Regions from separate parts of the Homo sapiens genome. Here region 1 is linked to region 2. The links are contacts of gene promoters, found by promoter capture Hi-C in blood cells and fetal thymus (Javierre and others, 2016). All regions are on one chromosome and are shown on one strand. The core of a region is centred on a gene start or on the middle of the fragment in contact, and the rest is flanking DNA. Distances in the headings are between cores, read along the strand shown.

What was found. Contacts are between HindIII fragments. The CHiCAGO score rates a contact against its expected background, and 5 or more counts as called.
Region 1: a fragment that was not itself captured here is called in contact with the fragment with the promoter of CIRBP in region 2 in 1 of 17 cell types (naive B cells); the score reaches 5.0 in naive B cells.

What each region holds. Positions count from the first base shown.
Region 1 is chr19:1,792,368-1,796,943 of GRCh38, reverse strand. ATP8B3 (ATPase phospholipid transporting 8B3) reads left to right here. Exons shown (of 29, transcript NM_138813.4): 16 at 65-233; 17 at 679-867; 18 at 957-1,069. Among named protein-coding and RNA genes, the nearest start is that of ATP8B3, 18 kb to the left of the region's middle. RefSeq lists enhancers at 1-521, 820-1,114, 522-1,334 and a silencer at 820-1,114. The HindIII fragment of the contact is 226 bases long and covers 2,061-2,286 here.
Region 2 is chr19:1,266,147-1,270,642 of GRCh38, reverse strand. CIRBP (cold inducible RNA binding protein) reads right to left here and starts at 1,311. Exons shown (of 6, transcript NM_001300829.2): 1 at 1,233-1,311. It overlaps CIRBP-AS1 (CIRBP antisense RNA 1), which reads left to right and starts at 383. Exons shown (of 2, transcript NR_027271.1): 1 at 383-818; 2 at 2,253-3,172. It overlaps LOC105372236 (a long non-coding RNA gene), which reads left to right and starts at 4,102. Exons shown (of 3, transcript XR_936233.3): 1 at 4,102-4,496. RefSeq lists silencers at 695-1,004, 1,055-1,214, 1,425-1,634, 3,245-3,294, 3,435-4,324. The HindIII fragment of the contact is 17,228 bases long and covers 1-4,406 here.

The DNA.
Region 1 (4,576 bases), core at 924-3,423, 530 kb before region 2:
GTGAGGGGGACGGGGCACGGGGAGCGGCCCACCCACAGCCGGCCCGTGCCCCCGCCACCCCCAGGAGAACCCCTACCTCTGGAACAAGTTCGCCGACGGGAAGCTGCTCTTCCACAATGCGGCCCTGCTGCACCTCGTGCGGACCAACGGGGACGAGGCCGTGCGGGAGTTCTGGCGCCTGCTGGCCATCTGCCACACGGTGATGGTGCGGGAGAGCCCCCGTGAGCGCCCAGGTGCGCCCACCCACCTCCCCATCTCTGAGGCCGCTCAGCCCCCGGGGCACGGCAGTGTCCCCAGCCCCGCAGCTCACCCGGCCCATCTTCCAGGGCTTTCAGCTGGCTTGGGGGGCGCTGAGGCCGGTGTGACACCAGCCGCACCTCGAGGGCGTCCGGGCCTGGAGCCCAGACAGTGCTGACAAGCATCGTGGCGGGAGGGCGGACGTGTCATCGTCAGGGCTAAAGGATGTCCAGGCCTGCGGTCGGAGCCCGAGGATCTGTTGTTGAGCGGGAAGGTCGTCTAGTCTCAAGTGCTCACCTCCATGCATTGGGTTGTACAGGCGGGGGTCCCCGGCCACCATCAATAAAGGTGTAGCCCAGGCGATACCCATCTCCTCCCTGCACTGTGGAGATGGAGACGGGCTCCACCACGTGACCCCAAAATGGCCCCCCTCCCTACCAGACCAGCTGTTGTACCAGGCGGCCTCCCCCGACGAGGGGGCGCTGGTCACCGCAGCCCGGAACTTCGGCTACGTGTTCCTGTCCCGCACCCAGGACACCGTCACGATCATGGAGCTGGGGGAGGAACGGGTCTACCAGGTCCTGGCCATAATGGACTTCAACAGCACGCGCAAACGGATGTCGGTGCTGGGTGAGCCCCGCCACCCAAGCCCTGGGCCCCCCAAGGTGGGGCGGGCAGACGGGGAGCCTCTGTGGGCAGCAGGGCCTGTTCCCCCACAGTTCGAAAGCCAGAGGGCGCCATCTGCCTGTACACCAAGGGCGCCGACACGGTCATCTTCGAACGCTTGCACAGGAGGGGGGCAATGGAATTTGCCACAGAGGAGGCCTTGGCTGTGAGTCCCTTCAGGAAGGCTGGCTTATGTGTGTGTGTGTGTGTGTGTGTGTGTGTGTGTGTGTGTGTGTGTGTGTGTGTGTGTGTGTGTAGGGACAGGAGGAGGAGGAGGCAGGGGAGGAGACTGTACGGAGAAATGGAAGGCTGCAGGTACCTGGGATGGCTATGTACAGTGAGGTATGTTGTGCACTGTACAAAACACCCTCCCCCGGCAACACACAAAACACACACACACCGGCTGGGAGGCAGCTGAACTCCCAAGTGTAGCCCCCAGAGAGAGAGCGTCTTTTTCTTTTTCTTGTCTTGTCTTTCTTTTCTTTTCTTTGAGACAGAGTCTTGCTCTGTCGCCCAGGCTGGAGTGCAGTGGCACAGTCTTGGCTCGCTGCAACCTCCGCCTCCCGGGTTCAAGTGATTCTCCTGCCTCAGCCTCCCGAGGAGCTGGAATTACAGGCACACGCCAGTGCACCCAGCTAATTTTAATATTTTTAGTAGAGATGGGTTTTCGCCATGTGGGCCAGGCTGGTCTTGAACTCCTGACCTCAGGTGATCTGCCCCCTTGGCCTCCCAAAGTGCTGGGATTACAGACATGAGCCATCGCGCCCAGCCTGCCTTTTCTTTTTTGAGAGGGAGTCTTGCACTGTTGCCCAGGCTGGAGTGCAATGGTGCAATCTTGAGTCACTGCAACCTCTGCCTCCCAGGCTTAAGCTATCCTCCTGCCTCAGCCTCCTGAGTAGCTGAGACTACAGGCGCCCGCCACCACGCCCGGCCAATTTTGTATTTTTAGTAGAGATGGGGTTTCACCATGTTGCCAGGCTGGTCTCCAACTCGTGACCTCAGGTGATCCACCCGCCTCGCCCTCTCAAAGTGCTGGGATTACAGGCGTAGGCCACCGCGCCCGGCCAAGGGTGTATTTTTCTCATTTGCACAAGACGACCGTGCGGTTGAGCTGGCCCAGCTGCCAGGACACACTCAGCTCCGTCTGCTCCAAAGCTTCCCACTCTGTGGGGGAAGCCCGAACTCCTCGGCCCAGGATTTGAGGCTTTTTCTGTCCCCTGCTGACCTCTCCAGCCTGGTCTCTCTTTGGCCTCACCAAGGGACTCCCTAGGACCCAGTTTCTGGCTTGTGACTTCCCCACTCTCAGGTGCTGCCTTGGCACCTTTGCACATGCTGTTTCCTGTGCTGGGAGGGTCTTCCCTGCACCTTTGTCATTCAGAAGCTTTCGGTGTCCTCATGACTCAGCCACAAGCTCCCCACACATGGGGCCTTTCCTGCCCCACCCCCTGCCAACATGGGGCTGTCATCACCCCAGGCTGCCTCCCCCTGGTCCAGCCCTGACCCTACAGGGCCAGAGGATTCTGCGTCCAGCCTGGGGGCTCCTCACAGGTTCTGCTGGGGCCCCAGCAGCATGGAGCACAGGGCAGCGGGGTGTGTGTGGGAAGATGTCCTGTGTCCCCTGCTCTGCCAGGATGTGGGGGCACTCTGAACTGGAAGTGCGGTCACAATAATGACCTAGAGCCCAGGAGCTCAGCAGGTCAGCTTAGCTCAGCCACCCCAGGGAATGGATGGGTAAATTGAGGCCGGAAGAAGGGTCAAGGCCTGTCGGAGGCTGCCAATGTCCGTGAAGCTCCTCTGCTGTGTCAAGCCCAAGCTCTTGGACCCGTGCCCCATCAACAACAAAAGGGAAATCAGACATGGTGGCGCGTGCCTGTGGTCCCAGCACTTTGGGAGCCTGAGGCAGGAGGATCGCTTGAGTGCAGGAGGTGGAGGCTACAGCAAGCTGTGATCGCACCACTGCACTCCAGCCTGGGCGACAGGGCGAGACCCCTGTCTCTTAATAAACAGGCTGGCGCGATGGCTCACGCCTGTAATCCCAGTGCTTTGGGAGGCGGGCAGATCATTTGAGGTCAGGAGTTCGAGGCCAGCCTGACCAACCTGGTGAAACCCTGTCTCTACTAAAACTACAAAATCAGCCAGATGTGGTGGTGCAGGCCTGTAGTCTCAGCTACTCGGGAGGCTGAGGCAGGAGAATCGCTTGAACCCGGGAGGCAGAGCTTGCAGTGAGCCAAGATCGCGCCACTACACTCCAGCCTGGGCAACAGAGTGAGACTCCATCTCAAAAAATAAATAAATAAAAATAAATAAATAAACAAATTTGAGACCTAAGGCCACCCCTTGGAGCACAAAGCTGGGGGCAGGGTCGGGGGGTAAGAAGCCGTAAGGGCACCTTCCTTGGGGACCCCCCGACCACCCTTGGGGTGCCTGCTCTCTGGGCCTGCCCAGTTTCCTCCCAGCCCCTAGAGGCCCCAACCCTGGGTCTGGCCCTTGAGAAATGAGGGGCCCAAGGAAGGGGCTCAGAGAGCCAAAGTTGAGGGGTCAGAGGGAGGGGCCTGGGACTGGGGGAGCCCCAGCTGGGGAAGGCACCGGGTGGGTGGACTGCATAGAAGGTCTTGAGTGATAGTCAGAATTCGCCATGCAGGCCAGGTGTGGTGGCTTCTGCCTGTAATCTCAGCGTTTTGAGGCTCAGGTGTGCAGCTTGCTTGAGCTCTGGAGTTCGAGACCAGCCCAGGCAACATGGTGAAACCACCTCTATTTAAAAAATATATATATATACAAAGAAATTAGCCGGGTGTGATGGCATGTGCCTATGATCCCAGCTATTTGGAAGGTAGAGACAGGAGAATCACTTGAGCCCAGGAGTTCGAGGCTGCAGTGAGCTATGATTGGGCCACTGCACTCCAGCCTGGGTGACAAAGTGAGACCCTATCCCCCACCCCCGAGAAAAAAAAAAAAAAAGAATTTGCTGTGCAAAGCATAGGGAAGGTGTTCCTGGCAGGGAAACAGTCCTCCAAGAAGGTCTGGAGGCAAAAGAGAGCTGAGGGTCTGGGGGTGGGAGCAGGTGTCTGAGACAGAGTAGGTGGGGAGCAGGGGCAGCTCAGTTTTCTTTTCTTTTTTTTTTTTTTTGAAACAGAATCTTGCTCTGATACTCAGGCTGGAGTGCGATAGGGCGATCTCAGCTCACTGCAACCTCGGCCTCCCAGGTTCGAGGGATCCTCCCACCTCAGCCTCCTGAGTAGCTGGGATTCCAGGCATGCGCCACCACACCTGGCTAATTTTTTATGTGTTTCGAGTGGAGACGCGGTTTCACCGTATTGGTTAAGCTGGTCTCAAACTCCTGGCCTCAAGTGATCCGCCTGCCTCGGCCTCCCAAAGTGCTGGGATTACAGGTGTGAGCCACCACGCCCAGCCCTCTTCCCCGCTTTCTTTCTATTGTTTTTTCTATTTTTTTTTTTTTTTTTGAGATGGAGTCTCACTTTGTCGCCCAGGCTGGAGTGCAGTGGTGTGATCTCAGCTCGCTGCAACCTCCGCCTCCCAAGTTCAAGCAATTCTCCTGCCTCAGCCTCTCAAGTAGCTGGGACTACAGGCACCCACCACCATGCCTGGCTAATCTTTGTATTTTGGGTAGAGACAGGGTTTCACCATGTTGGCCAACCTGGTCTCAAACTCCTGG
Region 2 (4,496 bases), core at 62-2,561:
CACCACCACGCCTGGATAATTTTTTTAAATTTGTTTTAGTAGAGATGGGGTCTTGCTCTGTTGCCCAGGCTGGTCTGAAACTCCTGGGCTCAAGCAATCCTCCCACCTTGGCCACCCAAAGTTTTGGGATTACAGGTGTGAGCCACCGCACCCAGCCACCTAGGACTTCTTAATTCAAATAATTTACTCCATCCACCCCCAAGACTGAAGGCAGGCCGCACCCATTTCCACAATGGGTGTCTCCCTTCCCCCACAGCCTTCCAGTTGTGCCCTGGGCAGGACTGCACTCTCAGGTTCTCCTATTTCCGAACGGGTGCCAACTCCTACCCTAACCAACTGACATCTACTTGTTGCTGGACCAGAACGTGCTTCTGCTCACTGTAAAATGCCTCCTGAGACTGGGGGGGGGGCTGGCTGTCAGGGAGGCCGCCCCGTCCTGGGGGGCACCTCAGGGCAGGTACTGACTTCCATAGCCAGGACCTAGGCCGGGAATCGGGAAGGGATGGCCCCGGAAGTGATAAGGCAGGATTTCCAGGCAGGGGAAGTGGCATTTAGGAGAACTGGCTATTTAAGGGGGCGGTCAGTGCTGACACAGACAAAGCATTCACTGGCTGGGAATGGCCGCCACCCAGTGGCTCTGAGAACTAGACTTGGAAGTCTGGCACTGGGAGCTGTGCCAACTTGGACCAAACTTTGGGCGCAAAGCACGACGTGGCAGACGAGGAACCACACTAGAACGGGCCACGCCTACCCAAGATTTACGAGGCCGTCCTTTCCCTCATGCAATCGCAATGGGAAAAGGAGGAAACTAAGGCTCGGTAAGCAAAAGCGTTGGTGTGTGGATACCTCCAGCCCCAAGGCCGGGAAAGCGGCCCTGGAGACCGGGGGCGCCACGTGGCCCCGCCCCCGCCGCGTGCGCATGCGCCCCGCGCGCACCCTGCGCCACTCCATCCGGGAACTCGGCGCTCCCGCCATTTCGCTGGGCACAGCCTCGAGCTCGCGGCCGCCATTTTGCGGCGGCAACCGGGTCGCCGGCGGCCCGGACCGGCGGGGAGAGGCCCTCTGGCCGCTACTCGGCCCAATCTCCCGCTGTCCCTCGCCGCCGGCGGGGCGGACTCCACCCCGGGCCCGCCCCCTCCCAGGGGCGTGCCGCTGCGGCCCCGCCTCGCCTGGCCGCCGCAGGCCGCCCGCCGCCCCGAGCTCCTCGGAGCCGGTGCAGCCAGGGCCCTCACCACTGAGTCGGGCAGGTCCCTGACGCAAGCGGGAAGACAGCGCACCACAACGACCCGAGCCTCCTAACGCGCGAGTGAGGGGGGGGCGTCCCCGAGCCCGGCCTTATATACGCTTCCGCCGGGCCCCGCCCCCTACACATCCTGGGCCAATCAGAGGGCGCGCCTGCGTCTTATATTCATGAGCTGGGGGCCGAGTCTATCTCGGTTCCGCCCCCTCCCGCGGACTGGTGTCGGGCTCGACTATTGGCCGAGACGTTTGCAGTCCGCAGTCCTCCACCCGCGCTCGAGGGGGCGTGACCAGCGCGCGGCGGGGCGGGGCGGGGCTGACCCAGTTACGCGTGCCTGCTCCCTGGCCTGCGGCGGGGAACAAATGGGCCTCTAGCCCCGATTCCCAGGCCTCAGGCCTCATGGGGACTTCTGGGTGTCACTGGGACCCCGACTTTGCCTGTGCTCCAGCAGTCCCGACATAACAACCTAGCCCAGATCCCCTACCCAACCAAGACCCGGCTGTCAGACATCCCAACTTCATCTGAACCCCGACACCTGTCGTGATATTCTTGCCAATACAACCGACGTCCCAGTTTTCCCAGCACCCCAGCACTCCATTCCTGCCATCAACCCCATGCCCACCAAAACCCCAACAGAGACAACCCCATTCATGCGAACCCCAATATTCGCAATCCCAATTCTTCCTACATCGCCACACTTTGGTGCACCCCAACTTTACGCAACCCAGTTTGCCTACAAACTCCAACCCGCACCCAAGCCTAACTCCCACTGGAACCGCGATTATCACGGCTGGGTGCGTGGCCCACACCCCCACACTCGCCTGGCCGGATAGTGTTGTGCGTCCCTGCTGTCGGGTGCAGGCGGACACCCCGAGTCCCCACTGCACCCCAGCACTCCGCCCGGCCCTCGGCCTCCCCTCCCACCGTGCTGCACAGCAACGGCGCACTCGCTCCCCACGCGGGGCCAGGCCCACTCTGCTCCTCCACCCAGGCCTTTTCTCTCCTTCCACAGGCCTCCCCTACTGAGCCTGGTTGGCGGAGGGGAGTCTTAAAGCCGCCGCCATCTGGAGAACCAGCTTTACAAGGACCCTCACTCACTACTCTTCGGCGGCCCCAAAGCCTCTGGGGGGCCCTCTATGGCCACCACTTGCTCCTCGCCCAGGAGTCATCTCATGCCGCCGCCTCCCCCAGCCCTGGTGGAAGAAGCCAGCGCGGACCCCTGCCTCTCTGCCCCAGAAAGTCTTCGGAGGGATGACCCTCTGCTGACAAGCTGGGGGAAGTTGGCGTACAGAGACCCCCGCTTTGCTGCTCATCCCAGGGAAATCCCGGCCCCACTCCTGACCTCAGACTCACTTCCACCCTCAAGTGGATCGAGGTGGGGGTAGCCAGGGGCGCTGTCTCCAGTGACAAGGTCTCTGGGACCCCTCATGGGCTCAAGACCCCCTCCCCCAGGCAGCAGCTGTGTGATTCATCACCACCCCCTCTGCACCTCGGGCCCCCCCACTACAGCCGCCCCACTCCCCGTCAGCGGCAGCCGGCTGCTGCGTCAGCCACTCACGCAGGGTGGTTATTAAAGGAGAGAGACATCAGCACCGAGCTCCCCTGCGCCCGCCGTCCATGCGGGAGGGGCCACCCACCCACTGGAGCCCCAGACGCGGGCGCCACATGCCCAGCCTGGGAGCAATTCAGGCCCATTCTTTCTGATCTGCGCCCCCAGCCCCCAGCCCCAGCAGTCAGCGCGGTGGACGTTCTCTGACCCAGAGCAGCCCTTGTAGGGGGGGAGTTGGAGGGGGTGCCTGGTAGTCACAGCGGCCCCTGCATAATTGCGTAATTCTTGCCGCTCCCCCCAGCCCATCGTTCCCTGGTTCTGTGAGCCTCTGCCTTTTCCTGGTTTTGCGAAGCGCCGTGTTCATTCATTCATTCATTCATTCAGCCAGTGCCTAGTTATTAAGCGCTTACTACGAGCGGGTTCCTGGGTGCGGGCTCCGTGAGTGTCCGCAGCCATCCTGGGTTCCCAGGGTGGCGTTGACACGCACCTGCGCACACCTGCCGCTTTGCATCTGTGCCGAGCACTGTGCACCGGCTTCCAGGTGTGGACCTGTGTCGGTACCTGTGCCTCTGGGGTCAGCTGCGTCTGCGAGCACCCGTGACTCCCAGGTATCTCACCGCGATCCTGTGTCCCCACCGGGGGTCTCAGGCGGCTGGGACCCCTTCATCCACCCCTGCTGGCCACTGACCATGCGGGACCCGACCGGGACGCGCTGCCCGTTGCGGACACCAGGGGGCGCTGCGGCCTCGCTCCGTCCGCGGCGTTTGGCTCGAGCGGCCGGGCTCCCGGTGCCGCCGCTCCACGCAGACGCCTCGCGTGGGAGAGGGGGCCCCGCCGCCCAGCCCTGCGCGGCCACAGCGCACAGTCCTCGAGGGGTCCAATCTCGCGGGGCGAGGACGCAGCCTGCGTGTCGACCCCCAGCCTCCCGCCGCCCCCGCGCCTCGGCCCCAACGGAGGAGCTCAAAATAGCCGCGCCGGGCGGGGGCGAGACTGCTATTCCGGGCCCGACGCGCGGGGCTCGCCCCTGCCCGGCGAGGCGCGGGGATCAGTCAGAGTCCCCGAACCTGCTCCCCGCGCGTCTGTCTTGGGCCCCGTGGGCCCATTCACAAATCCGCCCCCTTTCCAGCCTGCCGTCTCGGAAGGGGCGCGCACCTCCTGCACCCTGATACTCCTCCCGGGCCTCCTCCCCTGCGGGGCGTCGCCATGGAGACGAGGGCGGAGCTCCCTCGCTCCCGCACCGCCCACTCCGCCCTCCCCACGGGGCCCCGCCCGCCGGACGCCAGGTCCTCCCCCGACCCCGACTAATGACCGGGCGGGAGGCGGTAGAGAGCGTCTAGGCCTGCGACGGGCGTGGCCGAGGATGAAAGGCGCGTGGGGGGGACCCCGGGGCCGCATAATTACCGCCTCCTCCTAGCCAGGCGGGGGCCGGGACCGTGCACCTGGCGGCCGCCCCGCGGGGGCGCAGAAATAGGACCGTCCTGGCAGAGGCTGCAGCCGACCCAGCTGGCCCCACTACGCGGGGCCCAGAGCCAGGGTGGGGGATGCAGAGACCGGGCGTGCGGGTTGCCAGGTGTGGCGCACATGTGTGCCCGTGGGCAGAGTACAGAGACACAAGCTTGTGTGGACACGAATGTGTAGCTATGTGCGAGTGCACACGGCGTGGTGAGTGCAGGGACCCCAGGCCGGCCTGCGTCGGTGCGCAGGGCA